Linked DNA regions of Homo sapiens: all the other regions are linked to region 1. The links are contacts of gene promoters, found by promoter capture Hi-C in blood cells and fetal thymus (Javierre and others, 2016). All regions are on one chromosome and are shown on one strand. The core of a region is centred on a gene start or on the middle of the fragment in contact, and the rest is flanking DNA. Distances in the headings are between cores, read along the strand shown.

Region 1 (3,382 bases), core at 651-3,150:
TTCAGCTGATTGATAAAATACTCCTAAATCAAATCAAACTTGATTAGTAGGCTATTTAATACAGGGCAGTTTTTAATAGGTCACAGATATTTAAAATAATGTGCTGTCTTTCTCTGAGATAATGAACTTAATAATGAATATACACACTAAGTTACTTCTTTATAGTAACTTCAGCCAACCAGTCTACATTTAATGAGGTTTTCTTGTTTTGGGGTTTACACTAAGGAATAATTGCACTTCAGTCATTATCAGCACTCAACTACAATAACATATGCACACACATACAAAACCTCAAACTTTTAAAAGCCTGGATTAAAAGATTTCTGCTACCTAGAAAATACTTCCCACCAAAGCCAGGTTTGTAGCCAAGCACATTCTATGAGATGATAACAAGGGAATCCTTTCCCCAGACAATGTTTTAGACTATCAGTTCTGTGCTAATCTATCCTAGAGGGACTTCATGTCACTGGGTCCCTTGGCTTGGTTTATTTATATCCCCAGTTTAAAACCATCTTTACTAGGCCCTGTGTGTTGCCTTAGGCCCTATGCCAAGCACTGGGGATACCTAGATGAATCAAACAGGATCCCTGCCCTCAAAGAGACTGTGGTCACTCTTCTCAGCTGACATTTTTCTCCCGGCCACCTGATATATCTAGGGGATCATCAGACTTGTCCGACCAAGCTGTGTCCCCTCTCAACACCCCTCAGACCCATGTGTAGCCCCATTCCATCTTTCTCAGTGTTCTCCATTGTCCTTAACTGTAGTTAACCTTTGCCAACATCCTCAGCGTCAAGCTCCAATCCCTTTCTGACCCTATGGCCCTCTTAACACAGCCTTGGTGAATGTCCTATTTCCTGGTCCCTCCTTTTCCCTATTGGGGTTTTTCCAGCGCCTCAGCATCTCCTTTCATGTCTCCCCATCACCCTCAGAGATCTTCCATCCTCATCACTGTTCCCTTTCAGGGACCTTCCTTCTGCCCCCAGAAACTCCCTTAATGGCCAACTTCAGGACTCTCCCGTTATTCCTATCCAGATCCTCCTTCCGACATCTCCCCCTCCCCTGCAGCGACCTCCGATCCTCTCCTACCACTCAGAGCCCCTTCACCTTTCAGTGCCCTTGCACCCATGTCAGGGACCTGCATCCTTCTGGGGACCCCTCCCATCCCTCTTAGTGTTGTCAGGGAATTGCATCCTTCTCGGGACCCCTTCCATCATTCTCACTGTGCCTGCACAGTGTCAGGGACCCGCATCCCCTGGGGACCCCTCCCATTTCTCTTAGTGTTCTTGAACTCTGGTCAAAGACTTGCATCCTTCTTGGGACCCCTCCCTTCCCTCTCAGAGTCCCCGCACAGTGTCAGGGACTGGCATTCCTCTTAGTGTTCTTCAACTCCTGCCAGGGACCTGCAGCCTTCTCGGGGCCCCTCCAATTCTTATCAGTGTCCCCGCACGGTGTGAGCGACCGGTATCCTCCTAGCGACCCCTTACATACGTCTGTGTTCCCGCAGTGTGAGGGACCTGCATCCCCCTGGGGACCCCTGCCATCCTTCTCTGTGTCATCGCGTAGTGTCAGGGGCCTGAATCCCCCTCAGAGCCCCTCCATCCCTGTCAGAGGCCTCGCATCCGCTCAGGAGGCCCTCAACACTCTCGGAGTCCCCTCACTCCCGCGCCAGCGCGGCCGCACCTCCTCGGCCGGCTGCGTGTTGAGCACCAGCACCAGGCAGGCTGGGTGGCAGTGCAGCTGGAGAAAGTGGTAGAGGAGCCGGTCCGCGCCGAGCCCGCGGGCGCACACTACTAGCCCGTCAGTGTCGAGCAGTTCCAGCACCAGCTGTCGCTCGTACTCCAGCAGCGGCGCCATGGCAATCCGTCGAGCCGGCTGCCCTGACTCCATGGAAGCTCTTCCGGGTCGCAGCCGAACGCAGCCGAAGGAAGCCGACTCCTAGTGGAGAGTAGGCCGAACTCAACCGAAGAGAGCCGAGTCCGAGAGGACGGCAGCCAGCCGAACGTAGCCGAGGAGAGCTGAGACTGAGATGATCGTGGGCCGAACGCAGCCGAAGAGGAGCCGAGGCCACGACAGGCGCGCTCTCAGAAAGCCGAAGAGAGCCGAGCCTGAGAAGGCAAGCGTTGGCCGAACTCAGCCGAAGAAGAGCCGAGTGGAGCCGAAGATTCATGGAGTCACCTGTAGGGGCTGGCGCCCCCTGTCGGTGTAGCTTGCAGATATCAGGCTCCATTCACGTCTCTTTTGAGTTTCCACATCCCCTGGCACCCTAGCCTCAAGCTGCCAAAAAGCAAGGGAAGGGGAAGTAAGCCTAAGGAGCTTAATCCCCCGACATCGACAGTTGAAAAAGTTACTGGTCAATATTCCAAATGCGCCAAGAGTTAGTAGCACCTGTTTCCTAGGGTGGTTTTTGGCCCTTCCTTTTGCGATTACTCCCCATCCTTCTTTTAATTTTTTTTTTCTTTCCCGAGACAGGATGTTGATATGTTGCCCAGGCTGGAGTGCAGTGGCTGTGGAATAAGCAGAATCATTTACTGACTTCAGACCTCTGTTTGCCTCCCAAAGACTTCAATACAATAAACTATTTTTAAAAATCCCTCCTTCCACTAGAGGGACACCTCCCGCAGTGTTTGTTCTATACCTAGAAATGCCTGATAGTTGAACTAGTAGAGGAATTGTTTTGTATAGAAACCCCCCACCTTTGTTATTAGAAAATAGAAAATACAAGTAAACAAAAATGAAAATCACTTGTTTCCATTACTTGGAAATAACCACTGTTAACATCACGAAATCTATTTTATTTAGTCCTTTTTTTTCTATCTATATACACATTCTCTCATCACACGGAGTTCTTTTACCGACACGAGATAATTAATATCCCTGATTTAAATCCCCAGCTTTGTCATTAACATTTGGCAAACCTCTGAACATGATGTTTCATATTCTTTTACAAAGTCCTTTTATATGGCTGATGAGATTTCCATTATGTGGGTGTACTTACCTAATTGCTTATTAGAGGACATTTAGTCTGTTTCTGCTTTTTCCCTTCCAGTAATATAAATAATATTTCACTAAACATCTTTGTATGTAAATTCAGCCGTGGCCTTCAGATACACGTCTAGAAATGAATAATCACTGGGATAAAGAGAAAAAAATTTGTAAGGCTTTTCATTCCATTCACATTGCCACATTGCCCTCTAGAAAGCCTATACCAATTCACATTCACACTAGCCGTTTCCAAGAGGATCTGTTCCTCTACCTCTTTACTGCTTAATCTGGTATTTTGCTTACATTTTGTCAAGATGAAAATAGCATATAATTCCTGAATGCTGTTTAAGTGGAAAGGGTTGCCGGCAGACACTTTACATACAGCGTTTCCTCTGAGGC
Region 2 (3,382 bases), core at 423-2,922, 710 kb before region 1:
TCCTGGGCTCAAGGGATACTCCCACTTCTGCCTCCCAAACTGCTGGGATTACAGGCGTGAGCTGCGGAGCCCCGCCCTGCTGTGAGGTTTAGATGACAAACTATCTACAGGTACTCAAAGTTTGCTGTGTGGGGCTGATCGGCATTATTAACAGAATTATCAATAGCAGCATTTATTGAGTGATGGCTACCTACTTAGTGGCACTGCCAAACGCTGGAACCAAAAAGCAAACAAAAAGAACTGCCCTGGAGAAATACAATGTCTCCATCAAGTTTATGGATATAGGGAAATGCAGAGCACACCTGTCAGGATACACCCAGGCTGGATGTTGAGAAAACAGCAGCGACAAGAACAAACAAAACAACCCCATCAGCACGTGCAGTCCCTGCCGGCTCGGGGGTGTGTCCTGGGAAGAGAGTAAAGCTCTTTCCTATTGGCGATTTGGAGCATGACATCAAGACCACCCCCCTTGCAAAGGACCGACCAATGGGCTTCGGCGGGGAGGACCCAATGGCGACAGTTGAGGGCTTAACAGCGTCTAGGCTCTCACTCTGTTTTCCGCGGAAGCTGGGATGCTGCCTCCTGCCCCTCCAAAGGTCCCCGTTTAGACACAACCTGACTCTCATCTGTCGCCCCCTCCCGCCGGCTTTTTTAATAAAAGACAATTCTCGGCCGGGCGCGGTGGCTCACGCCTGTAATCTCCCCACTTTGGGAGGCCGAGGCGAGTGGGTCACTTGAGGCCAGGAGTTCGAGAACAGTCTGACCAACATGGTGAAACCCCGTCTCTACTAAAAATACAAAAATCAGCCGGGCGTGGTTACGCGGGCCCGTAATCCCAGCTACTCAGAAGGCTGAGGCAAGAGAATCGCTTGAACCTGGGAGGCGGAGGTTGCAGTGAGCCGAGATTGCTCCACCGCACTCCAGCCTGGGCGGCAGGGCAAGACTCCGTCTCTAAAAAGAAAAAAAAGAAAATTCTCTTTTGCCTAAGTTATTTCCGAGCCGCAAGTCGCAGAATCAGAAGAGCCGAGTTCTTGCCTGGCCCCAGTGTGACTTTGGGATTTCACTTTCTCCCTTCTGCGCTTCGGTCACCCTACTTTAAAGAATGGGCACAATCGCTCCGCCTTAGGCCAGGAACGTGCCTCGACAATTAGACCGTAAACTCAGCGTGGCGACTATCAGAAGCCTCATCAATTCTGGTCCGGCTGTTGCAGGGTGTGGCAAGCGCTCCTGGCGGGCAGGCGCCCCGTGGTTCCCCTCCAAGGTGTTTGGAAGCGACCCCTCCTCCTTCCCGCCCTAGGGAGCCCCAGGAGGGAGTGGCTCTGACCCTGACCCCCGAAAGGACGCAGGCGAGGCCCAGCGACCGGCTGTGCGGACGTGGGGCTCTCGGGAAGGGATAGCGCAGTTGGCCAAGCTGGGGTCCGAACCCCGCGGCCAGGAGTGGGGATGCTCAGGACTCGGGCCTGCGTGAGGAGAGGCCCCGCGCGCCTCCTACGACCCGGCTGGGGAGGCTCCGCAGAAGGGATTCCCGCTCCGTCTTCCACATCACTCCCCGATATCAAGCCCGAGTCGCCCCCTCAGCACCCCCCAGCCGTGTCGCGGCTTACCATTCCACTCGTCCCGGGCCAACCGGGCCATTATTCTCAGCACAGACCCCGCGGGAGCAGAGGAAGAGGGAGAGGCTTCGCTACCGGAAGTAACAAGACAGAGTGGGGGAAGCGTGCCCCGGCCCCGTGACCATAGAGGAGAGGCCGCTCTCCTTTCACAACCCCCCTCAACCCCGCGACCTCCCCGCTGCCTAGAGCGGCCACTCCCAGCCGGAGGAAGTGGGCGCATGCGTAATACCGCCGGTCCCGCCCCTTCCTCTTCACCCAGAGACCGAGTACCCGGGCTCGGCAGTCACAGCCCAAGGGGTGACGGGTGTGTGTCAGTTTCCGCTCCTCCTGGGCGGCTGTTCTTGTATCCGGAGGATACAAGCTTTGCCTAGAAATTAAAATATTACAAGGCCGCACCGTACTCTCTACAGTTATTTTTTGCCTTCACATTTTATGTAGAAAATCACAGGACTATACGTTCAATTTACGGTGTTAAGAATCGGAATTAAATGACTTTTATTTCTATTAAAATATTTTTTTTTTCGTAGAGATGGGGTCTCGCTGCGTTTTCCAGGCTGATCTTGAACATATGGCGTCAAGGGATCCTCCTGCCTCAGCCTTACAAAGTGCTGCGATTACAGGCGTGAGCCACCTCGTACAGCTTGAAATGGTTTTCTTATCACCACGTTTCGCCCCTTCCCAGCGTCTAGGTCACAGCGTCTAGAACTTATGCTGATTATTTGGTTTTGTTTTGTTGTTGTTGTTTGTTTTTGAGACAGAGTCTCACTCTCACCCGCCAGGCTGGCGTACAGTGGCACGATCTTGGCTCACTGCAACCTCCGCCTCCCGGGTTCAAGCGATTATCCCACCTCAGCCTCGTGAATAGTTGGGACTACGGGCGTGCACAACCACGCCTGGCTCATTTTAAAATTTCATTTTATTTTTATGGAGACAGGGTCTCGCTCTTTTCCCCAGGCTGGTCTGGAACTCCTGGGTTCAGGCGATTCTCCTGCCTCAGCCCCCGAAAACGCTGGGATTACAGGTGTGAGTCATGGCGCCAGGCCCCCATTAAACAGTTATTTATACAGATTTATTAATACGCTGCTTCCCAGTTCACATTCATTAGCACCACTGAGCCTCAATACAATCCCAGGAAATTGAGGTTTAGGAAGGTTTAATGCATTCCAGAACTAATAAGTGGCTGAGATAGATTTTGAAAATAGGTCTTCTAATCAACTTTCCTTTTGTTCGTTTGTTTGTTTTGGAGACGGAGTCTCGCTCTGTCGCCCAGGTTGGAGTGCAGTGGCACAATCTTGGCTCACTGCAACCTCCGCCTCCCGGGTTCAAGCAGTTCTCCTGCCTCAGCCTCCCGAGTAGCTGGGACTACAGGGGTGCGCCACCACGCCAGGCTAATTCTTTGTATTTTAGTAGAGATGGGGTTTCACCGTGTTGCCCAGGCTGGTCTCGAGCTCCTGGCCTCAAGCAATCCGCCTGCCTCGGCCTCCCAAAGTGCCAGGATCACAGGCGTGAGCCATCGCATCCGGCACTAACCAACTTTTCATAGTTGGCTTTTGTGAAAGACCAACCTGAATGTATTCATTCAACCCATGCTTATTGAGTGTCTACTACGTGTCAGCCCAGTGCTAGGCATTGGAGAACAGCAACCCCAAACCAACATACAATTCCATTAGGGCCGGGCCTCATATGTTGCACTCGACATAGTATTCCCAGAGGCTAATGCAGTAGCTAAGGGTCTCAGCTTTGCTTTCCGTGATCACCTAAGTAACAAC
Region 3 (3,382 bases), core at 1-2,500, 660 kb before region 1:
CTATAATCCCACCACTTTGGGAGACTGAGGTGGGAGGATCACTTGAGCCTAGGGAGTTCAGAACCAGCCTGGGCAACATAGTGAAACCACATATCTATAAAAAATAAAAAATTAGCTGGGTGTGGTGGGATACGTGTGGTCCAGCTACTCAGGAGGCTGAAGTGGGCGAATTGCTTGAACCCAGGAGGTCCAGGTTGCAGTGAGCCATAATAGTGCTACTATCCAGCCTGGGTGACAGAGTGAGATCCTGTCTCAAAAAAAAAAAAAAAAAAAAGAGTCATTGTGACATACACAATACAAATAGGTATATAGTAATTTGTTAAAACCATTAGATCATGTTCATATAAGCTTGGAACTTATTTAATGTCTCCAATGTTGTGATGGCTTGCTTTTATAATTTATGATTGGTTTTGTTATCAAAAAATCACAGTTTGAACTGAGAGTGAAAGTAGACCAACGACTCCTTTTTTCTTATCTCTCATCTTGCTGTCTGAAGAACTGTTGAAGCCTCCTTGAGATGGCTCTTGTCTGTCTTGCATGTAGGATGTACCTTGTAACTATTGAAGTGTCCAATTGAGAGTGTTCAAGAGTCAGTCAAGAACTGTCCATCTGGCTAGAGATTTTGTTTTTCATCCACTTCAAGTCAGTGCCTTTTCCTGTTGGTGTTTTCCATAGTTATTATTGCCCCCTTGTTCTGATAGGTCATATGTCACATATCTCTGAGACATCATAGGTCAGCCATGTGGAGCCTACCGAACAAGTGTTTGTGTCTTAGGACCTGTTGAAGAGGGATAGGCGTGGTGTTCGAGCAGTTTCTCTTTCAGCTGGGCTTATTTCTGTCCTGTTACCCACTCTGTTCACATTTATATGAAAAAAAAAAAAAAAAAAAACAGAGAAATAGAGTTTTCATGTGGGTTTCTCCCCACCCTCCCCTTTTGGTGTTTCTGATCTCTGAAATAGAATAATAAGAAATAAAAACAACAGCGTGAAAGTACTGATTGTAGATTTTGGCCCTGCAGAAGAATTTATAGTTTACAAACCTGAGGAGTAGGAGTAGATGGTAGCAGTTTGGGAATGGTAGACCGGCAGCAGTATTTGAACCACGTAAAACCATGTGAGAGTATTTGACTCACCCTTGAGATTGATGGAGCCCAGGCTCTCTGAGGATCCAGGTGAATCTAGAACTTGTACTCCAAGTGTGGACTCTCCTGCAGTTGCTCAATGAAGTCGCTGATGATGGGACTGAGTACCTACTCCAACGTAGCAGGGATGCTGGTGCTGGGTTCAAAATGGCCAATGTGTTTAATTACTTTGTCTGTGTTTAAGTATTTTCTGTATTAAACATTTTATGTTTTAATTATGTTTTTTATGTATGAAGTATTTTAAGTAGCTTACATATTTGAGTAAAAGACATTTTAAACATTGATATACATTTTGTTTACCTTGTTAAAAATTCTTTTTAGACTCTTGGATACTAAATTGATGGCCAGCACACAACCTTTTAAGGTATTATTCATTTGCTACTTTATAAAGCGACTGCATATTACTGAGTGAAATGAATGCCAGAACAATATAGCCTTCTGGCAAAAGGTTTGGAGGTATTTAATGCATCTGTAAAGATCTTTATTCATTTGGTTATACTTTGTATATTATAAAAATTAAACTAGCTGCTTCTCTTTCACATTGAAAAAAACGAAGACTTCTGTGTTTCTTTAAAGAACACAAGGAGACAGTACTAGATGCTGTCTTTTTTTTGGGGGGGTCAGTGAATCTCTTTAATATATTGTTCTGAGATGATGAAATCTCATAATTCTTTGCTTCGTGGTTTGCAGGATATCATTAACAACACATCCCTTGCGGAATTGGAAAAGCGGTTAAAAGAGACACCTTTCAACCCTCCTAAAGTTGGTAAGAATATTAAACCGGAAACCCTCCAAACTCTTTGTAATAATTATTGATGTATATTGTAGAAGAAAAGCAGAATGGCTCTGGAGACCGTATTGTTCATTTATAGATTTTGGCTGAATTCACTTGCACGTACCGTGTGTTGAATTATTGTTTTTTGAATAAAGATGGTCTTTTAATTCTACATATATTTTATGTTAATGGAGTTGGGTAGCCATTCATTGAGAATTTTAGCAATTAAAGCTTCAAGGCTTCTATTTTCTAATAATATGGAATTCTCCTAAAACTTGATGTGCCCTTTTATTCTTTCATACATTATTGAAGCAGAGACAAAGAGCTAGTGATTAATCACCAGGGGTAGAGTAAAAAATATATTTTCCATCTCAGAAAAGCCCGAGAACTGGATTTACAGGTGAGATTAAGGCAAGTCCCCACCCTGCCTCCTTTTCAGCTGGTTTAGAGAGTAGAAACAGCAGCACTGAGGAAAACCAGAAGTAGGGAGATGAGATGGAGGTGTTTTGCCACCTCGGGCCACCACCAAGGTATGTGGAGAGCCTACCAGGTGCTACTTCCTTGGTCCCTGTTAACCTGATTGTGCTGCTGATACGGTGATTAGCGAGCCATTAGTTGTAGCCTGAAAACTTCTAAAGACATGGATAATAGGACTAATGGTTTAGAAATTGATAATGCAAAGTATTAAAGCAGCCAAGATTACAGTTATTTGCCCCTTTCTGGGTAATAGTCCAAGAAAGGAATTAAGAAAAGTGGTGGTGGGGCCATTGGGGGAGAAAACGTGGACCTTTTCTATAACAATATAATGGAAATAATTGATTTTGGAAAGAATGTGTCTCAGTTGATGATGGAGTGGAAGATATTACTTAGGTGGCTACCATGTTAAAAGGCTTTTTTTTAAAGGCATCAAGTCTAATATTTAATATGGAGTTAAAGAATTCTTGCTTAAAGAGCATTGTATTGACATAAAAACAGTTACAGCCTTTTCATTGTTAATTTCCATTTATGCTTTTGATTCTGTGTTATAGTAACCTTCCTGACATTCATTTCCAGAATGGTTCTAGGATATAATTATTTATGAGTTATAGTTTTATGTTATTATTTCCATATAAAATAGTGGTATCTGGTAGAGAATTCAGTCTAAAGCAGGTCATTCCTCTTATAGTTTATCTGGTCACATCTGTATTTATCAATGTCACAAAAGAACCATATTGTATATAAAGCGGTCTTTGCTGTAAAGTGGTTCCATGATCCAAGGCCAGCATTATAGCAAGTTCGATTTATTTTTGGAGTTGGTTGTGCTGTCACCTTTCGATCTCTAAGCTTGGGAACATAGTAGAGGACAGTAGTGAGTTGGAGCTGTTGATAGTGAATTGCAGTCTTCTCTTTTTTTGGGGGAGGGTTGCCTCAGGTATTGATAGATAACAGTTTTTGAGCACTTACTATGTACCAAGCACTAGGTAAG
Region 4 (3,382 bases), core at 589-3,088, 640 kb before region 1:
CCAGATCTGTCATGGTACACTCACAACCTTCCTTCGTGGCTGGAGCTCTTGTCAGTACATGCTTGCCTTGCACTGCACTGGCTCCAACACTAGGCGTGACCATTTTTTGCTAACTGCTTCTTAAAGTGGCCGCCTGTCTGATTCACGCTCCTCCTCTGCCATCAGTTTTAGGACTGGAAAGCCTGCTGCCTCAGGAGCAAAACTAAGTATTTCCTTTCCTTTGTGAATCAAATCTGTGATTTTGTAGATAGATTTGGTAATGTAGAATTTGAAAGAACTATAATGATCTTTTCAGTTCTCAGAGGTTTGAGTCTCCATCCAAAGTATTCCTGAATCACCTTTAGGACTGCTTGCATGCATTTTTGAATATCATACTTCGTTTTCTTGAGCATAGCTGCGTGAAATGGGTTAATAGCAGCATTGTTTTGCAACCCACTTAATATTCACCGGACTACTAGGGAATGGCTTAGATAAGCCACAGTCCAAGGCAAGCCATTGTGTCATCATAGAATAACCTTTGATCTGTGCTTGTACTTAACATAATCTGTGTCTGAAGCTTTGTGGTAAGGGTGGAGGATTTTGCTAATGTTAGAGGTGTCTGATTCTTTTGTATTGTGTGTGTTACTCCCTCAAGTGTTTGCTAATCTTTAGTGCTGCATTAGTGGCTAAAGCTTAATTTGTGGCCAATTCACAGAAACAGGTTAGACTTTTGCTAATGAGTTGCCAAGAGAGTAGTTTGAGTAATTTTTTTTTTTTTTTTAAATCTACTTAAAAACAAGAGTGGTAGCTGTCAGCAGTAATTTCACCCAATTTATCTCTTGCAGAGAACCTAGTTGCATGCTACAGTTTGGCCTCCTGGTTTCAAGGAGTGGTAGAAGGCTTATGTTACTGCCTTCTGGATTTTGAGGTAGTCCTTGGTATTTAATAGTTTTATGTTTTTCTTTTTTTTATTCATAGTTTTTTTTTTTTTTTTTTTCGAGACAGAGTCCCGCTCTGACCCCCAGGCTCACTGCAACCTCCACCTCTCAGGCTCAGGGGCTCCTCCTGCCTTAGCCTCCCAAGTAGCTCGGACTACAGGCATGTGCCACCACACCTGGCTAATTTTCTGTATTTCTTTGTAGCAGTCATGTTGCCCAGGCTGGTTTCAAACTCTGATCTGCCTGCCTTGGCCTCCCCAGGTGCTGGGATTACGGGCATGAGCCACTATGCTTGGCAGTTTTTTTCTTTTTTAAAATTTTATGTGTCAAAGTTTTGTACTTTTCTTTTCTTTTTTTGCGATGGAGTCTCACTCTGTTCCCCAGGCTGGAGTGTAATGGTGCAACCTCTGCCTCCCAGGTTTAAGCGATTCTCCTGCCTCAGCCTCCCGAGTAGCTGGGATTACAGGCGTGCGCCACCACCCCTGGCTAATTTTTGTATTTTTAGTAGAGATGGGGTTTTGCCATATTGGCAAGGCCAGTCTGGAACTCTTGACCTCCAGTGATCCACCTGCCTCAGCCTCCCAGAGTGCTGGGATTACAGGCGTAAGCCACTGTGGCTGGCCAGTTTTGTGTTTTTCTACGTATTTTATTTATGGTTTGTTCATTTAATTGTTTATTTATTGTGTAGACAGGGTCTTTCTCTGTTGCCCAGACTGGAGTGCAGTGGCATGTTATAGCTCATTGCAGCCTCAAATTCATGGAGTCAAACAATCCTGCTGCCTTAGCCTCCTGAGTAGCTGGGACTACAGGCACGAGCCACCTTGCCCGGCTAATTTACTTTTTGTAAAGACAGGAGTCTCACCATGTTGCTCAGACTGATCTCAAACTCCAGGCCTCAAGTAATTCTCCCACTTCTGCCTCCCGAAGCAGTGGGATTAACAGGGATGAGCCACAGAATGATTTAATATAAACAAATCATTAAGACTAATATCTTTTGGAGAAGTTGGCACAAGTCATTATCCAGCTGATTGCTGCATCATCTTTAGTGGTAATTAACAACACCACATTGAATATACTGTTTTCCTGTTAACTCGGTGATTCTCAGTCCAGAGTTTCTGAGTCAGGAGTCTTGGATGGCGCTTGGGAATTTGCATCTCTAACAAGTTCCCAGGTGATGCTGATCCAGTTGGCGGGGAAGCACATTTTGCTAACGGTTCAAGGTTCTATATTCTAGAGTTATATATCTGAAATGAAATTCTTCAGTAACTAATGAGCCTTCTTAGGCAGCCTGGGACACAGTGTCATCCCGCCCTTTTCTTTTTTTTTTTTTTTTTTGAGACGGAGTTTTGCTCTTATCACTTAGGCTGGAGTGCAGCAGTGCAATCTCGGCTCACTGCAGCCTTCGCCTCCTGGGTTCAAGCGATTCTCCTGCCTCAGCCTCCTAAGTAGCTGGGATTACAGGCACCCGCCACCATACCCAGCTAATTTTTGTATTTTTAAATAGAGACGAGGTTTCACCACATTGGCTAGGCTGGTCTGGAACTCTTGACCTCAGGTGATCTACCTGCCTCGGCCTCCCAGATTGCTGGGATTATAGGCGTGAGCCACCGCGCCCGGCCTATACCGCCTGTTTCACAAAAAAGTTTGGAGGGTGGCTTTTTGTGAGTGCCACCCAGCACATGGGTAATGGAGATGAGGTGGTGGCTCTTTGGAGCTAAAGGTATTGTGTAGCGTATGCTGTGTAGCCTGTGAAGAGACTGAGTGGAAGTGACCCAGTGTATTGAGCAAAAGATCCTGGTATGCTGTGCTTTACCCTGGAGTCTTTCCAGACTTGTTTGAAAGCCAGGATAACAAGCACTGCCAGTGATATACTCATACAACATTTAAAAAATGACAGATTCCACAAAGGTTAAAACTTGCTCTATGACATCTAGAATGTGAACTTGAGTTACACTGTTTCTTAGGATAGAATTCTTTTGTAAAATTAGCCATTGTATTTAATGGGAATTTTAATTTTAGTGTTTGATAAAGTTAATGTCAGTCCTTTAGAGAATAAGTGGGGAAATAATATTTCATCAGAAAGCTTTCAGAAATGTGGCAAGATACCCGCACGCAGTCTTGAGGGTCTTTACCGTGTTACACCCTCTCGGATCTTTGCTAAAATAGAAAGAACGTTTCGTGCAAGTGTTAGTCTGAGTGTCTTTTTGATATCTGCAGATGAAAGTCCTTCTGGGAGAGATTGTTCTTCAATACAGTTCACAGTGATGGAACATCCTTTCATGTCTTTATCAGCATTTCTGCTTGCCTAGTGCATTTCCTCATATGCTAGGATGAAAACTGTCAAGTTGGATGAGGCATATGTGAAGTATTTTATCAAATCATTCCAGGGAGTCAGTGCAGGCCATTTGACAGCCAGCTGGGATGAGGCATGCCTATATTGAAATGTTTTAATTTTACTTCAGAAG
Region 5 (3,382 bases), core at 412-2,911, 600 kb before region 1:
TCTTGCCTTCTTCACTTGGAGGGGGCAGCCTTTCTGTGTGCCCATCTTGATGCAGGGACCTTGTTCCAGCTTCCTGTGCCACACAGGTCTGAGGCCATGTCTGGGTCTTTGTGACTTCTGGATATTGTCCCCTGTACCTGGTCTTGTTTTCCCCTTTTTTCCACCAGGGCTGCCCCAGCCCACTCTTTCTCTTAAGCCCTGGCTTTACATTTTCTCTTATTTCTCCCCTTCCTGCTTCCCTCTTATTAAGAGACCAAGTCTCACTGTGCTGCCCATGCTGACCTTAAACTCCAGGACTCAAGCCATTCTCCTGCGTCAACCTCCCAGGTAGCTAGATTTCAGGTGTATACCACCATGCCCAGCTCTTTTCTCTCTTATTTCTGACACCTGAGATTTGTGCATTTAGGAAAAAAAGTTCTAATTATCCTTTAATACTCCTTTACATTCCTAGTGGGAAGAGGCTCTACCTTAGCTCAGCCCACCTCCTCACCTGCACCCCAATTCTGTTTGGTTCTTGATGTGCAAATGATGTTTGTGGCTAAAGATCTCTCTGTAGTATTGGTGTTTGAGCTTTTCTTGTTTTTACCTGCTGGACTATTTTTACCTTTGACTTAGCTCCTTAGTAATACAGTCATAAGCTTAGTAACAGGGGCCACCTTCTGAGAAATGTGTTGTTAGGCATTTTCGTTGTGTGAACATCGTTGTGTACTTAAACCTATATGGTACAGCCTACTGCAGTCCTAGACTACAAGGAGTAGCCTGTTGCTTCTAGGCTGCACACCTGTACAGCATGTTACTGTACTGAATACAGTAGGCAGTTGTAATACAATGGTATTTGTATATCTAAACATAGAAAAGATACAGTATCATAATCTTATGGGACCACCATGTATAAGGGGGTCCACTGTTGACTGAAACGTCAATAGGTGGTGGTTACGTGTATTTTTTTTTTTTTGAGATGGAGTTTGGCTCTTGTTGCCCAGGCTGGAGTGCAATGGCGCAATCTTGGTTTACCACAACCACCACTTCTCGGGTTCAAGCAATTCTCCTGCCTCAGCCTCCCTCCCGTGTAGCTGGGATTACAGGCATGTACCACTACACCCTGCTAATTCTGTATTTTTAGTAGAGATGGGATTTCTTCATGTTGGTCAGGCTGGTCTCAAACTCCCAACCTCAGGTGATCCGCCCGCCGCAGCCTCCCAAAGTGCTGGGATTACAGGCGTGAGCCACCGTGCCCGGCCCGTTACATATATTTAACAAATATTCCAAATGGAAAGCAAAAGCGTTCCTGTGGCTGTGAACTGATGTTCAGTGGAGTGGCTCTGTGTGTTTATTTCCTGACATGTGACTTTGCACAGGCTTTACCACATGTCAGAGATTTGCCGGGCTGGAGGATGGGGTGACGCAGGGACCTGCAGGCCATAGAACTTTTTGGCAACCCTGGTTTACTTTCAGAGAACGGCTGCAAGAGGTTGAGTTTGGAGCCTCATCTTCATTATTCTAAAGGGAAAAGAAGGGGAAATTCTCTGTTGTCTGTCAAGTACTCTATTTTGCTTTGTTTTTCTTATGAAAAAGAAAAGGGAATGTTTAGGTTTGCCAAAGTGTACATTACAGAAGCCCTTGATAGAGCTGAAAAGCAGTGAAAGTGAAAATGATGTTCTGATAAAAATCTTTTACCTTACTGAAGCTATTTGGAGAAACTAGACTAGAGAATTAAAGGATAAAGCATTGTGTAACCAGAGAGGCCAACACCATGATTGTGGCAGTGGCCAGTCTCCTCCATGCTCTGAGGGAGAACCTGTTGCACTCATGTTGTTTGTTTGGTTGAACTTTTTATTGTGGAAAAAAATGTCCAAGACACACACACTATAAAGAAGAATATAGTGACAAGTCTGTACTCACCCCCAACCCCTTCAGCCACTTAATCGTGGCCAGTCCTGTTTCATCTCTACGAACACCTGCTCTCTCACTTTTTATTTTGAAGCATATTTTAGATCCATATTGTATTCACTGGGAAATATTCCAGTGTGTCTCTTAAAAACAGATTTTTTTTTTTTTGAGACAGGGTTTCACTCCCATCACCCAGTCTGGAGTGCAGTGGTGCGATCTCCACTCGCTGCAACCTCCACCTCCCAGGCTCAAGCTGTTCTCCTGCCTCAGCCTCCCTAGTAGTTGGGACTACAGGTGCATGTCCCTGTACCTGGCTAATTTTTGGTAGAGACGGGGTTTCGATATGTTACTCCTAAGCTCAAACAGTCCACCTTGGCCTCCCAAAGTGCTGAGATTACAGGCATGAGCCACCATGCCTGGCCCACAGATTATTTTTTTAAACATAGGTACAATATTAGTATTGCTCCTAAAAAATAAATCATTAATATCTTAAAATGATAAACTATTGATAGACTGTTAAAATTTCAAGTTATCTCACAAATGTCATGAGTTTATCTTTTTCCACTGAAGTCAAGATTCATATAAGGGCCACACATGGTGGTTGTTGAAATGTCTGTGGTGTCTCTTAATCTATCAGTGTGTCTCTCTTCTGCCCTCACCCCCTCGTTTGTTGAAGAAGCAAGGTTATTCGTCCTGTAGCATTTCTTACAGTCTGAACTTTACTGATTGTATCCACTCCCCACCTCTCATGTTGTTTTATATATTCTTTTGTCCTCCTTTTTCATATAAGCTTGTTGTTAAAGCTAGAAGCTTGATCAGAATAAGAACTGATGTTTTGAGGCTGCAAGACTGCTTCACAGGTGGTGATGTGTTCTTCCATCAGGAAGCACATCTAGTATCTAGTATCTCTCTTTTTGTGTGTGATTTATTGGCTGTGTTAATGCTTAACCTAGATCCATTATTTCATTAGAGACTGCAATATGGTGATACTGTAATTCTAGCATGCCTTTTTCTTTTATTAGTTGGAATATATCTATAAAGAGAAACTTTTACTTGTCTGCTATGTGGTTGGCAATTGGTATAGGAAAAGCAGAATTTATGTTTGATTCTTGCCTAAAAATGGACAGTAGTGGCCAGTTAGTTTGTTTTAGTATCATCATGGACTTATGGACATAATGACATAGAGAAATCTATAATATGATTTAGTCAGTCACAGTTTTGACCCTTACTAATGCTCCAGTTCTCCCAGTGTTGCAAATCAGAACCTCTTGAGGTTGGCCGATGAATTCTTTTGACTGGCCCTCTGAGATGACAAGATGTTCCAGGCTCATCTTGTACATTCACTTCCCCAGACCTGGAATCAGCACTTCTACAAAGAGCTCTGGTTCCTTTCAAGGAAAATGGCATTTCGAGACCTCATTCTGGGTGCTAGAGTGCTCATTGTACTGGGTTGGTTATTGTTTCTGAGCTTTACAACAGACAGAGCTCAGAA
Region 6 (3,382 bases), core at 340-2,839, 580 kb before region 1:
ATCTTGCTTTGTTACCCAGTATTCACAGGTGTGATTATAGCACCCTCCAGCTTCAGCCTTTAACTCCTGGGCTCGAGGTCCTCCCACCTCAGCCTCTGGAGGAGCTGGGACTACAGGCGTGCGCCACTGTGCCCAGCTATTCTTAATCTAGCCTATGTTGCCGAACCAAAGCTTTACATTTTCCATAGTATATCTGTCAGTTTATTCTTTTATAGTTTCTGGCTTTAGTGTCCTATTCAGAAGCATTAACATTTAATTTATTAGGAATGAGGTTTGTTCACTTGCCTTTCAGTAAGTAAGATTGCCAGATTTCACTTAAAATAGCTGTGTGCCAAATATTGTATGATATACTAAACAGTGATATGTAATTTATCTGAAATTTGGCATCTTGCATTGTTATGTGGTAACTTTATCAGTAAGACTTTCCCTGACCACTTAATTTAAAATCACAACCCACATCTCAGTACTGCCTGCTTTTTGTTTTCTCCATAGCACTGCACGTACACTGTATATTTTACTTTTTTGTTTAGTGTCTATATCTCACCACTAGAATGTAAGATCCATGAAGTCAGGCTTTTTATTTTAACTTTTAAATGGAGGCTTAACATACATATAGGAAAATACCCATATGAAACTGTACTGCTTAACGAATTGTCTTAGGAGGGCAAAGATTTTTTTATTCTAAGTTTTTCTCAATGCTTAAAATAGGTGATCAGCAAATATTTGTTGATTGAGTCAATGGTATAACCTATGAGAGAGGCATTCATGTTACTTTTTCCCAAATAGCTAGCCAGAGAATTTATTGATTATATTTTGTTTGGTTATTATTGCTTTGAAAGCGTATTTTTTCTCCCCTCTCCCTACTTTCTCCCTCACGTAATTTTTATTTATTTTATTTATTTATTTTTTGAGACGGAGTCTTGCTCTGTCACCCAGGCTGGAGTGCAATGGCGCAATCTCTGCTCACTGCAACCTCCGCCTCCTGGGTTCAAGCTATTTTCCTGCCTCAGCCTCCCGAGTAGCTGGGATTACAGGCTCATGCCACCATGCCCGGATAATTTTTTGTATTTTTATTAGAGACAGGGTTTCACCATGTTGGCCAGGCTGATCTCCAACTCCTGACCTCGTGATTCACCCACCTCGGTCGCCAAAAGTGCTGGGATTACAGGTGTGAGCCACCGTGCCGGCCTCCCTCAACCTCACATAATTTTTAATGAATATGAATAGCATAATTATTTAACTATTCTCCTACTATTAAACATTTGTTTGTGTTTTGAAGACATTTTTAATTTAAAAATTTACGTATCCTTGTGCATTAAAAATTAGTCCTCATTTCAGATTGTTTTCATAGGATGATTTCCTAAAAGAGGAATTACTAGGTCAAAGGATATGATCCTCTCTAAGCCCCTTCTCGTTTAGACAGAACACTCACTGACAGTCAGTAGACCTCTCTGCTGAAGAAGGCACACACAAGGACTGTTGATATCATGCCCTTGGTTCACTGCTTCTAAGAACAATTTACCACCATCTGCTAGCAGAGTAGGTGGTCATTACTTTGTATCTTCCTTGACATCAGCTCCTTGCAGCATTGTATGATTGAAACATCTTGAATTTGTATTCCAGTTCTCCTTATACCAGCTGCAAGACTATGGACAAGCCATTCAACAGGGTCTTCAGTTTTCTGTATAAAGTGAGGGTAACAGAGCCTACAGCATTGGCAGCGTGTACTACCTGTGATATAATCTCAGGAAATGATAGCTACCACCCTGAGGCAGGTGACCGTGCTTCTCAAAACCTGCCCAGTCAGTGGTCCAGACCATTTTGGTAGATGCACGGGTGACCACTTCACCTTGGCTAAGAAATACTTGTAGGGCAAATGAGGGCCAGAACCTGAATTTATAGGACAGGATTCCCACCTTTCTGTTGTGTCCACAGGTAGGTAGGGAAAAGAGCAGTATCATAATCCCTTTCAAACAGGAAATTTATTTGAACACCTTCTCAGCTTAGGCTGCCCTCATCTTTCCTTGCATGACATATTCATGATACGTGCGTTTCTATCACCTTTGCTAAAAGAAATAGATACTGCATTACGCTTTTCTCATATGAGTCAGCTCTTTTCAGAATTGCTTCTAACCACAGAGAACTCCTTACAGCTCTCTGAGTGTTGTTTGTGCACCTAGAATACAAATTGACATGTATAAACTACCCTCATGTGGACATTACATTCACCTCCTTGCTGCCAAGAAGAGAAGGTGGAAGTCTCTTTTCCTTTCTGGTGTTCTCATTCCCCAGAAAGGAGAATCCATTCAGCTAGTATCAGTGCCTCTGTGGGGGGAGGTTCTTCTCAAACAACACCAAAGCAGCGTGGATAGGAGCACTCAGGGGCGCAGCGGGGTGAGGGGGGCAGAAGGTGAAATATCTCTACCGTCTTATGTTTTATTTAAACCATTCTCACAATTTAAAAAAATGCTATTCTGCAATATGTCCATTTTACTTTAATATTAATTTGTTTTAAATTGCCAGATTAATTATTTAATTTTTCCTCCCTGATCTCTGGTAAAATCCATGCCCTAAGAAGTTAAGCCGTGGTTCTTCAGTGGCTTGTAGTAATTGCAAGCCCAGGGCTGTTCGGAAGCAGAGAGAAGTAGCTGTATTAGCTGTTCTCTCCTGAAGAAATATCACTGGAGGTATAGAATAGCTAAAACACCTTCCTTGTCTTCAGAGAACTAGCTTGGGTACATGTGACCAGAGGACAGGCACAGAGGCTTAGATCGTATATTTGCTAGGTACCAAGTAGAGTTACATCATAACATTTTGAAACTTGTGTGAATTCAAATGTACTTGATGTGGCTAATTATTTTTTAGGGTGTGAGACTGGTTTTGCTTGTCACTTCACTCAGCAAAAGTATTTATCCTTATCCCAGTGAGTTGGAGATGAAATGGGAGATGTAGATTCTGCCCCTTCCTTGTGAATATCAACTTTCACACTCTTCTTGTAGCAAGCTTCCTGCTGGTTATAAACCATGTGTGTTCACACATGTGTGTACATGTGTGTTTAATAACATGGTGCTCACATGCAAGCCATCGTCTTCCTCTGATGTCCTAGAGGAGAAACAGTAGTGTGTTCTGACCCTGGAGGAAAAACCAGCTGTGTTGGCTTCACTGAGAGACGCATGTTCTCCAGTGTGAAGAAAGAAGTTTCAAGGGTAATTTTAACTAAAGGCAAAGTTCAGCTTTAGCGTCCCCACCCCTTGCCCCATGCGTGAATACTCTGTTGTGACTCCAGTCTTAGATGCTTTCCCTGAAGCCAACTGTGGAAAGCATCTCAGTTCAAAGATAAGAAAACAGTTGCCCAGAGAGGCATGTGGCCTTCCAGTAGTAG
Region 7 (3,382 bases), core at 382-2,881, 570 kb before region 1:
ATATTAATGTAGCCAAACTTATTGATCTTTTCTTTTATGCCTGTCCTTTTTTCTATCTTTGTAAATTCTTCCCTACTTCAAGCTCAGAAAGATACTCACTTATATTTCCTTTTCAAATTCTCAGAGTTTGCTTTTGACATTTCAGCTCTTCATCCATCTGGAGTGAATTTTTCGGCATGGTGTGACTAAGAATCCAATTTCTTTTTTTTTCCCCCCCATGGATAAACAATTTTTCCAGCTTTTCCTTTTCCAGGCAGTTCTGTCAAAAATCAAAGTTTCACAGATATATACGTGTTTTTCTAGGCTCTTAGAATTCTGTACCATTGGTCAGTTTATCTCAGCACCATTACTCCACTGTCTCAATTCCTATAGCTTTACAATAAGCTTTTTTACCTAGTAAAGCAAGTCCCCCTTCCCATTCTTTTTTAGAAATGTCCCAGCTATTGTTGGCCCTTTTATTCTAATTTTAGAATTCATCTTTCAGGTTTCCCAGAATAACTGAGGTTTAATTGATGTATAATAAAGTGACCGTCTTTGGTGTACAGTTCTGTGCCTCAGCAAATGCATGCAGTAATGTAATCAGCACTGCAATCAGGATATAAAATAGTTCTGTCACCTTCAAAATGCCCTCCCCTTCTTTGTAGTCAACTTCCTCTCCCGTTCCAGCCCCAGCACCAGCCCCAGGCTCTCACAACCACTGTTGTTTTCTACCGAGATTTTTTTTTCTTACTTTTAATTTTTTTCAATATTTAATTAAAATGTTGGAGGCCAACTCTGGGCACACTGCCTATGAGTTAGCCCTGTTCCACAGAAGTTGTTTAAAAAATAAAATAAAATGTTGGAATATTTTTGCTGGAGTTGCAGTAAATCTATAAGTCAATTTAGGAAGGAATCTACATCTTATGTTGTCTTCCTCTTCATAAACATAATGCATCAACTTAGTTGGAAAGTCTTTGCTTGACAGTAGTGGAAAGTTCTTTAAAAAACAATAAAGTCTAAACATTTTAAGTAATTCCTTAATACAGGAAGCATTTTATAAGCTAATTGTCAACCTACATAAACAAAATGCATATAAATACACAGCAGGCATGTGGCAGTATTAACATTGTTAAAATGTATATATAAATGCCACATCCTGGTTTCAAGCCAGCTTTGTTGCTTACCTACAAGACCTCAGGCAAGCTGTTTAGTTTCTCCGATGCTCAGTCTCTTTATTTGTGTGGTGACTAGAACATCCGAAGATTAAATGCTATGCTGTGTGCAGTGTCAAGAGACAACCGCGTTGATGCTGCCTTCGGATCCTCCGGCGAAGACTTCCACCGGATGCCCCGGGTGGGCCGGTTGGGATCAGACTGGACCACCCCGGACCGTGCTGTTCTTGGGCACAGTGAAGCCGGAGTGTTTGAGACTCTTATGTGAGGGAACTGCTCCCACTCACCTCCAGGGAAACAGGGAGGACTCTTAGCACATTTGGTTCCCCAGTGGCTTTCACAAAGTGGCAAGACCGATAGATTGCCTTGAATCATTTCCCTGACAAATTTGGAAAAGGTTAGTTTTACCCAGCAGCCTGCTACATGCTGCTTCTGACAGGCGAGCTGGAATAGCTGGAGGACACAGTTGACAGCCAATTCATTTTGCTGATTCATCCATTAGAGGCGTGGCTTTGAGCCAGAGCTTGGCTTCTAGATTAAAGGCCGAGAGCTGCAAAGCTGCTGGGACTCAAGGAATGCTGGTAAATTATTGCCACGTGGAGGCCAGCAGTGAAAAGCGGACTGTTATTTATTTCCCCTTTTAAGTGATCCTAAATTCCAAATGTGCTCAGATAAATCCCCTCGCCATGGTTAGGGAGTTGTTTGTAACATTTGTCTATCAGCTGGGAGCTGAATTATTGAAAACTATCAGATATCATTAAATAGATTAACTCAGCTCGCCTGTGACCCTGTCATCACCTTTGCTTTCATGGGGAATATTGACCCAAGCCTCCTCTCCTACTTGGTAATCCAAATTAAACTTGAGAGAAGGATTTTTTTCGAGATAGGGTCTTGCTGTGTTGCCCAAGCTGGAGTGAGTACAATGGTGCAATCGTGGCTCACTGCAGACTTGACTTCCTGGGCTCAGTCAATCCTCTCACCTCAGCCTCCCTAATAACTGAGACTATAGTCTGAAGCCACCACATCTGGCTAATTTTTGTGGTTTTTTTTGTGTGTGTGTGGAGAATGGGGTTTTGCCCCATTGTCCAGGCTGGTCTCGAACCCCTGGGCTCAAGCAGTCCTCCTGCCTTGGCCTCCCAGAGTGCTGGGACTGTAGGCATGAGCGACCACACCTGGCAACAGAGGGATTATTGCAGATGTCATCCCTTTTGGGTGTGCTTGCAAATCAAAATAAACCTTTTAGATTAAAGAACGCAATAGCCAGGCCAGGCACGGTGGCTCACGCCCATAATCCCAGCACTTTGAGAGGCCGAGGCAGGCGAATCACTTGAGCTCAGGAGTTCGAGACCAGCCTGGCCAACACGGTGAAACCCTGTCTCTGTGAAAATTACAAAAATTAGCCAGGCGTCGTGGCGCACGCCTATAGTTTAAGCTATTCAGGAGGCTGAGGCACGAGAATCACTTGAACCCGGGAGGCGGAGGTTGCAATGAGCCTAGATGGCGCCACTATACTCCAGCGTAGGCGGCAGAGCAAGACTGTCTCAAATAAATAAATATATTAATAAAAATAAAGAACTTTCTTAAAAAAAAAAAAGAATTGAAATAGAAGAAAATCCAGGAGAATGCTCATTGGTTAACAATTGGTACAGAATAATGATGGTAGAACCAATGGGTTCTCATATGTCCACATTGATAGATGAACATATTTTAATCTGTCACAAGCTTAGGGAGTGACAAGCTTACAGCGAAATCACCACTACATAAATCTGGTATGTGACAGGGTGACCTTTAAGAGAGGGTGGAGATTGTGTCTTGATTTACCAAATACCTGACATAGTTCCTGGGACAAAAACACTCAGTAAGCAGTTACCACATGGAAGAATGGGTGGACAATGGTTATTGGATATGAATTGTTGGGAGGCTGGGTAAATGAGTGAAAAATAACAGAAATATGACACATTCAAAGTAAGAAAAATAACTGTTCCAAGGAATAAGATTTTCAGGAAAGGATCCTATTTCTGTGGCTCTCTGATATGAGTAACTTTACTCAATAGCACATCTCCAGAACTGCCTGCTTTCACCGCTTATCTCCTGAGTGAGGCAGAGTGTGCTGTTTTCAGCTCACATTTCAGTAACCCACTCCACTTCTTTGGGAGACATTGTATAATATGAACATTCTCTAGCACTTTCTTTTTAGAGACGGGGGTCTCACAGTGTTGCCCAGGTTGGTC

What was found. Contacts are between HindIII fragments. The CHiCAGO score rates a contact against its expected background, and 5 or more counts as called.
Region 2: the fragment with the promoter of BFAR here is called in contact with the fragment with the promoter of ERCC4 in region 1 in 15 of 17 cell types (fetal thymus, non-activated CD4 T cells, monocytes and 12 more); the score reaches 30.4 in fetal thymus.
Region 3: a contact is called between a fragment that was not itself captured here and the fragment with the promoter of ERCC4 in region 1, in 10 of 17 cell types (naive B cells, monocytes, non-activated CD4 T cells and 7 more). The highest score is 9.2, in naive B cells.
Region 4: a contact is called between a fragment that was not itself captured here and the fragment with the promoter of ERCC4 in region 1, in 14 of 17 cell types (M0 macrophages, monocytes, naive B cells and 11 more). The highest score is 13.6, in M0 macrophages.
Region 5: a contact is called between a fragment that was not itself captured here and the fragment with the promoter of ERCC4 in region 1, in 16 of 17 cell types (M0 macrophages, fetal thymus, M2 macrophages and 13 more). The highest score is 22.8, in M0 macrophages.
Region 6: a contact is called between a fragment that was not itself captured here and the fragment with the promoter of ERCC4 in region 1, in 8 of 17 cell types (M0 macrophages, naive B cells, monocytes and 5 more). The highest score is 9.0, in M0 macrophages.
Region 7: a contact is called between a fragment that was not itself captured here and the fragment with the promoter of ERCC4 in region 1, in 8 of 17 cell types (M0 macrophages, fetal thymus, total CD4 T cells and 5 more). The highest score is 10.9, in M0 macrophages.

What each region holds. Positions count from the first base shown.
Region 1 is chr16:13,918,672-13,922,053 of GRCh38, reverse strand. ERCC4 (ERCC excision repair 4, endonuclease catalytic subunit) reads right to left here and starts at 1,900. Exons shown (of 11, transcript NM_005236.3): 1 at 1,682-1,900; 2 at 1-23. The coding sequence starts at 1,888. The region is part of intron 1 of LOC105371093 (a long non-coding RNA gene); the gene reads left to right. LOC124903647 (a long non-coding RNA gene) reads left to right here and starts at 1,976. Exons shown (of 2, transcript XR_007065001.1): 1 at 1,976-2,375; 2 at 2,471-2,589. RefSeq lists enhancers at 1,447-1,656, 1,697-2,056, 2,267-2,316. The HindIII fragment of the contact is 6,939 bases long and covers 1-3,382 here.
Region 2 is chr16:14,631,241-14,634,622 of GRCh38, reverse strand. It overlaps BFAR (bifunctional apoptosis regulator), which reads right to left and starts at 1,672. Exons shown (of 8, transcript NM_016561.3): 1 at 1,605-1,672. RefSeq lists enhancers at 1,090-1,659, 1,660-2,227. The HindIII fragment of the contact is 17,820 bases long and covers 1-1,976 here.
Region 3 is chr16:14,582,873-14,586,254 of GRCh38, reverse strand. It overlaps PARN (poly(A)-specific ribonuclease), which reads left to right. Exons shown (of 24, transcript NM_002582.4): 15 at 1,464-1,506; 16 at 1,833-1,908. Among named protein-coding and RNA genes, the nearest start is that of PARN, 46 kb to the left of the region's middle. The HindIII fragment of the contact is 1,800 bases long and covers 351-2,150 here.
Region 4 is chr16:14,560,028-14,563,409 of GRCh38, reverse strand. The region is part of intron 18 of PARN (poly(A)-specific ribonuclease); the gene reads left to right. Among named protein-coding and RNA genes, the nearest start is that of PARN, 69 kb to the left of the region's middle. The HindIII fragment of the contact is 2,329 bases long and covers 674-3,002 here.
Region 5 is chr16:14,519,376-14,522,757 of GRCh38, reverse strand. All of the region lies in intron 21 of PARN (poly(A)-specific ribonuclease), which reads left to right. Among named protein-coding and RNA genes, the nearest start is that of LINC03107, 92 kb to the right of the region's middle. RefSeq lists an enhancer at 1-105. The HindIII fragment of the contact is 2,042 bases long and covers 641-2,682 here.
Region 6 is chr16:14,502,086-14,505,467 of GRCh38, reverse strand. The region is part of intron 21 of PARN (poly(A)-specific ribonuclease); the gene reads left to right. Among named protein-coding and RNA genes, the nearest start is that of LINC03107, 75 kb to the right of the region's middle. The HindIII fragment of the contact is 2,832 bases long and covers 174-3,005 here.
Region 7 is chr16:14,485,020-14,488,401 of GRCh38, reverse strand. All of the region lies in intron 21 of PARN (poly(A)-specific ribonuclease), which reads left to right. LOC105371094 (a long non-coding RNA gene) reads right to left here and starts at 1,400. Exons shown (of 2, transcript XR_933105.3): 1 at 1,164-1,400; 2 at 1-259. RefSeq lists an enhancer at 1,799-2,734. The HindIII fragment of the contact is 2,489 bases long and covers 387-2,875 here.